2 separate regions of the Homo sapiens genome follow, and region 1 is linked to region 2. The links are contacts of gene promoters, found by promoter capture Hi-C in blood cells and fetal thymus (Javierre and others, 2016). All regions are on one chromosome and are shown on one strand. Each heading gives the region's core, a stretch centred on a gene start or on the middle of the fragment in contact. The rest is flanking DNA. Distances are from core to core; before and after follow the strand shown. Region 1 overlaps CCDC40 (coiled-coil domain 40 molecular ruler complex subunit). Region 2 holds the start of CBX2 (chromobox 2).

Region 1 (3,059 bases), core at 17-2,516, 290 kb after region 2:
GGGTCTAGCGGGTATTGCTAAGTAGGATTGTGACAGTCACGCCCCCGGCAGCGGTGTTTCAAAGTCCCCTGACAGCTCAGCATGTTGTCACACTTCAGGACTGTGCCAATCCGATTGATGAAGAAAATAGATAATCTTGTTTTATAAAACGTGCATGCGCAGAATGTTGAGTGAATATTTTAGTGGACTATGTACACGCACAAACACTTCACAACGAGTGAGAGAGCCTCTGACTTCACCTGCAGCTTGCCACACCAAGGCCCCGGGGAGGAGTGAGGCCCAACTTTTATTTATTATATTTTTGTGGTTCTTGCAATGGAGTCTCGCTCTGTCCCCCAGGCTGGAGTGCAGTGGCACCATCTCTGCTCACTGCGACCTCCGCCTCCTGGGTTCAAGCGATTCTCCTGCCTCAGCCTCCCAAGTAGCTGGGATTACAGGCGTGCACCACCACGCCTGGCTAATTTTTGTATTTTTAGTAGAGACGGGGTTTCACCATGTGGGCCAGGCTGATCTTGAACCCCTACCTCAGGTGATCCACCCGTCTTGGCCTCCCAAAGTGCTGGGATTACAGGCGGGAGCCACTGCGCCCGGCCAGTCTTTTAAAAGTGCAGGCCGTGTAGAACATTGTGAGAAGTATAAACTGTAATTACAGAGATTTGCTGTTTGCACCCAGATAGATTTGAAGAAGCAACTTGGAGACAGGTTTAATAGATCAGGGCCATTATTACAGAAATAAATTATTGCATAGCTTAGGACTTCCAAGCTAGGAGTGCAGTGACTGAACTATACCTCAAATATTGACCTTGAGATGTTCAGATTTGTAGAGCATCTTAGAAAATGGTGACATTCCTGGCTGATGGTCAGGATGGTGCATACCAGGCCGGTACCCTGGTGGCTGTCTGGGCATTTCTGGAGCCTTCACCCTGCGAGATCCCCATGGGGCAGGACCCCCTGGCCCAGAAGCTTGGTTTTGCCATCACACCGAGAAGGCACACTTGTCCTGGAGTTAGTTTACATGAATCGAGCTCACCAGAGCCTGACGTGTAACTGAGTATAATAGCCCATTTATGTGCATGATGAAATATAAACACCAAAGAACCGAATGCTCCACGCTCGGACTAGCAGATTCTTATCTGTGGGGGAGGACACAGGAGCGGATGACACAGACCCCTGCTCAGGGACCGGCTAGAGGGCGGAATGCCTGGGCCCCGGCCCTGTCTGCTTCCTGCTTCTTCCCCGAAGTTCATGGCCTGTCCGTCCACATGGGCGGGAGGTGTCCCGCGAGCAGCCCTCACCCTGACCTTGGCTGCTTTCTCCATTCCATTCCCCACCCCTCCTCCCTCCTGACACCCATGGCATTTTTTCAGATAAGTTAATACCTTTGATTAGGTTCCAGCCAAACCTCACCCTTTCTCTTTCCCCATGCCTTTGTGTCTCTCTTCGTCTGATGTCGAGTCTACAACCTAATGCTTTGAAGACAGACTGACTTCCCCGTCCTTGGTCAGGGGGTTGCTGCTGCGTGGGGGGGGCGGTAACCATAATCTTGCCCCCGTGTCTCATACACAAGCTGCAAGCTTAGCTCAGAAGCTGTGCCTGTCTTGGCTGCTTTTTCTTGCTGTCTTCCCTATTTTTGCAGGAGTTTTGCACACGGTCATAAAAGTTCAGGAGAAACATGAAACGTGTTATTCTGTTTCCTGTTTAAGTCGACCTGAGGAAGCTGAAGGGGTCAGGCGCGGTGGCTCACGCCTGTAATCCCAGCTCTTTGGGAGGCCGAGGCGGGCAGATCACGAGCTCAGGAGCTGGAGATTGAAACCATCTTGGCTAACATGGTGAAACCCCGTCTCTACTAAAAATACAAAAAAACAGCCAGACCTGGTGGCGGGCACCTGTGGTCCCAGCTACTCAGGAGGCTGAGGCAGGAGAATCGCCTGAACCCGGGAGGTGGAGGTGGCGGTGAAGCAAGATGGTGCCACTGCACTCCAGCCTGGGTGACAGAGCGAGACTTCGTCTCAAAAAAATAAGAAAGAAAAAGAAAAAAAAGAGAGAGAGAGAGACAGAGAGAGAGAGAGAAAAAAAGAAAGAAAGAAAAGAAAAGAAAACTGAGGGCTTGCCCTAATCTCCTAGACTTCCTTTTCCCTCAGTCCTGATGATGGCAGAGACGACTCCTCAAAGGCTCTTCCCCTTGGCATGGAGTGCTGGAGCCTGCCCTAGGGAGGGAGGACAGGATGGAGCAAGACACTGAACGCAGAATTAGAGCTAGGCAACGAGCGGGTGATTTCACTGTTTCCTGGGTAACAAGCCCCAGGCTCAGCTCGGTCTGGTGTAGCCCCTCAAAGGGGACACTGTCCTTGCCCCCAGTTGATGGAGGAGGAAGGAGCGGAAGGCAGTGTGGGATGGGTTGGGTGTGGGCATTGCCACAGTGTCCCCAGCAGGCCTCCTTCTAGCCTGGGGATCTGGCAGGTGGGTCCCAGTCACCACCAATGCCCCATATACCCAAGGACACTGGTGACCCAGCAGACCTGAGGCCACAGACCAAAGACAGAGTAACAACCCCATTAAAAATGTGCCCCCATGGGCGGGCATAGTGGCTCCTGCCTGTAATCACAGTGCTTTGGGAGACTGAGGCAAGAGGATCCCTTAAGCCCAGGAGTTCAAGACCAGCCCGGGCAACATAGTAAAGTAAGACCTTGTCTCTAAAATAAAATATAAAAAATAGCCAGGTGTGGTGGTGTGTGCCTGTGGTCTCATCTACTTGGGAGGCAGAAGCAGGATGATCACTTGAGTCCAGGAATTTGAGGCTGCAGTGAACTGTGATTGCACGAATGCACTCCAGCCTGGGCAACAGAGCAAGACCCTGTCTCTCAAAAAATTTTTAATTAGCGGGGCATGGTGGTGTGCACCTGTAGACCTGTAGTCCCACCTACTCGGGAGGCTGGGTGGGAGGATTGCTTGAGCCCAGGAGGTCGAGGCTGCAGTGAGCCGAGATGGTGCCACTGCACTCCAGCCTGGGCAACAGAGCCAGAGCCTGTCTCAAAAAAATAAAAAAGTGTCCCCAGACA
Region 2 (3,051 bases), core at 175-2,674:
CAACATCTGAATTTGCACGTACTCTCCAGGAAATCAAATGAATGTAACCTATCTAACCAAAGAAACTGAAGAACACGCCATAAATTGAAAGATCGGTTCCTACAGTTCAGTATTTTCTCCAGTAGGCCTTTCTGTAAAAACAAAAAAACACATTTCTCCTGCAGAACCCTTTATAAATATGGTTTTGATGATCACAATTACATTGAGACAGTCTCCTACAACAAGAAACGACTTTTGGATCTGCTCAACAGAAAGAGAATTTTGCAGCTGTGTTCAAGGAAGCAAGAAAAGCAGAGAGTGAATTTTCATGGAGTTAGACTGCGTTGAGACGAATGAAGCTAAGGCTCAGGTCTCTTTCATTACGTGTTTGACTTGTCCTGATTCAAAATCTAAATAACTTAAAGGGTGATTCTTCATGGAATTCGAATCTTAACACCGGAATAAAAGGGTAGCCTGCTGACGACGATCACAGGGAGGACAAGGGGTCACCCCCACTTTCATAACATGGCCTGACCCTTTTCTGCCGCGGACAATTGATCCGAAGGACGCCGGCTGCCCAGCCCTGGCGGGCCACTACTGACCTAGTCCGAAGTTAGGAACAGCCTTGCAAACCGCCCCCTCCCCCTCCATTTCATCAAAATCGGGGAACAAATTCAGAAAAGGTGCAGCTGGTTTTCTCCCTACACGTGCCCTAAAACTCGGGGGCTGGATCCACTTTTCATAGCTGTTTAATAAGAACTCCGGGCAGTTCGTATTACTTCTTTCTCAGAGTGCTTGGTGGTTTAAGTTAAAGCATTTTCCTCTCTCGCCTTTGGGGGAAAAAGCCTCGGCTGCTGGGGTTTGTGGGCCCCTCCCCCGGACTTCGTCTTCCTTTCCTTCCCCAGCCCCCGACCCGTTTTGCTCTCGTCCAAAACAGAGCGACTCCCCCGCTGCCGAGGAAAAGCCAGTTCAAGAAGCCGGGGGAAGGGTGGGGCCCCGCGTGCCCCGGAGCAGCGCCCCTCGAAGGCGGGGGCAGGAAGCAGCCGCCGCGCCCCGTCCCGCTTCCCTCCCTTCGGGCCAGAACAATGGCTTTTTGCCCGGAAAACGGAGTTGGGAGCAAGGGCGGGCGCGCCCCGGGAATCACGCGGGACTCGGTGGGCGCCCCAGGCCCGAAGTCCCTAGGCACCTCCTCCCCCAGCCAGGGGCCCGCCCGCGCCCCCACCCCCGCCCCCGCCCCCGCCCGGGGCCCCGCGCGGGACCCCCCGCCGGAGCGCGAGGCCCAGCCCGCCGCGGACAATGCGCGCCCCGCCCCGCCCCGCACCCGCCCCCCCTCGCTGATTGGCCCGCACGGGATTTGGGCAGCGCGCGGGGGCGGGCGGCGGGCCGGGGCGCGGGCGCGGAGCGGCGGTGCGCGTGCGCGGGGCGGGCCGGCGCCGGGCGGGGGCGGTGCTTTGTGTGCTGCCGGCGGGGCGCGCGGCGGTCCGGGCGGGTGACTGGCGGCGGGCGCCGCGGTCGGGCTGGCTGCCGGGCAGCATGGAGGAGCTGAGCAGCGTGGGCGAGCAGGTCTTCGCCGCCGAGTGCATCCTGAGCAAGCGGCTCCGCAAGGTGCGTGCGGCCCGCCGGGCCCCCCGCCCGCCGCCCGCTGTCCGTCTGGCTCACGGCCCCTCTTCTCTCCCCGCAGGGCAAGCTGGAGTACCTGGTCAAGTGGCGCGGCTGGTCCTCCAAGTGAGTCCCCCGCGACGCCGCGCCCCCCTCCCGCCCCCTCGCCCGGGGGTGGGGACGTGGAGCCCCTCGGCCGCGCCGTCCGGTGGCCTGGGGGCGCCCGCGGGCAGAGCGGGAAGTTCGCGGGGTCCCCGCGGGCTCCTCCGGCTCTGAGGGGGGCGGGGGCCGCCCGGCCCGAGGTTGCCCTTTGTTTACACGCCCGCGGGTGCAGAGCTGGGCGGCCCCCCGCGCCAGAACCTCCTCGGCTGCCGCGCCGCGCTCCCCCCAACCCCCGTCCCGGCCGGGAGGGAGGCGCGGGATGCAAGCCCCCCTCCTCTTGGCCAGATTCTCCCCGCTGTAACCTGAGCTTGCTATTGATGGATGTAGAGTTTCTTTTTTTTTTTCTTTCTTTTAATGGAAGGGAGGGTGTTTGGCATCCCCGGAAGGGGCTCTCTGCACAGCTGCTCCCGCGGCCCCGTTTCTGCGTCTTCCCGGACCCCGCTCTTTCTTCGCTACCCCTCGAGGTGCCCCGGCCCGCGCGCCACATTGTTCTGGATCTCGGGCTGGGCGCCTGTGCCCCTCCCTGCATGCTGGACCTGCCTTCCCTTCCTCCTCTGGCTCCGGGCCAGGGTTTGGGGGAATCCCTCTCTGCAACTTTGCGTTTTATGGGGGTTTGTTTTTCTCCCAGGCAGAGACTGTGGGAGTCCTCTTGTGGCCTTGTTTTAATTGGGGGGTTGGAGCGGCAGTTTCCCTTTGGGTCTGAGGTTAGAGTGCTGGCTTGGTGGGGGGTGGCCAGCCTCCAAAACCTGGGTTTGGACTTTGAGAAGTGCCATGGTGCTACGGTGCCACTGCCATCGGCCCAAGTCGAGGAGCGGTGAGGGCGAGCCCCCTCGGGCTGCCTTGCAAAGCGGTGATCATCAGCCTGGCGTCTAATGCTGCCCTGTCCTCTGCTTTGCAGACATAACAGCTGGGAGCCGGAGGAGAACATCCTGGACCCGAGGCTGCTCCTGGCCTTCCAGAAGAAGTGAGGACGCTGACAGCACTGGGGAGGGTGTGGGGGAGGGACGGTGGCTGGTTGGAGTCGTGCTGGGCGCTGCTCGCCTGCCGGGAGGCTGGAGCTGGGGCTGTGGTCTGAGGTCCCTTAGCAAGATTGTGTCCAGGGCCATCTCTGTGGCTGGCTGTAAAAGTCCCCAGCCAGCCCCTCTCCCACCTTCTCCTAGCCAGCCTGTATCCATCCCTGAGAAGAACCTAAGTAAGTGCTGCTTTGGTGTTTCCGACAGCCATACTTGCAAAAACCAACTTTTTCAGTTGCTTCAGATAAAGATGTTATAGCTTCTCTTGGCCTTTTCTGCTGAGTAATTTGCACATGGC

What was found. Contacts are between HindIII fragments. The CHiCAGO score rates a contact against its expected background, and 5 or more counts as called.
Region 1: a fragment that was not itself captured here is called in contact with the fragment with the promoter of CBX2 in region 2 in 1 of 17 cell types (endothelial precursors); the score reaches 5.1 in endothelial precursors.

What each region holds. Positions count from the first base shown.
Region 1 is chr17:80,067,740-80,070,798 of GRCh38, forward strand. The region is part of intron 10 of CCDC40 (coiled-coil domain 40 molecular ruler complex subunit); the gene reads left to right. The region is part of intron 1 of LOC124904074 (a long non-coding RNA gene); the gene reads right to left. Among named protein-coding and RNA genes, the nearest start is that of MIR1268B, 30 kb to the right of the region's middle. The HindIII fragment of the contact is 611 bases long and covers 962-1,572 here.
Region 2 is chr17:79,776,724-79,779,774 of GRCh38, forward strand. CBX2 (chromobox 2) reads left to right here and starts at 1,425. Exons shown (of 5, transcript NM_005189.3): 1 at 1,425-1,584; 2 at 1,661-1,704; 3 at 2,639-2,704. The coding sequence starts at 1,513. RefSeq lists silencers at 1,230-1,609, 1,620-1,689 and an enhancer at 2,085-2,678. The HindIII fragment of the contact is 13,003 bases long and covers 1-3,051 here.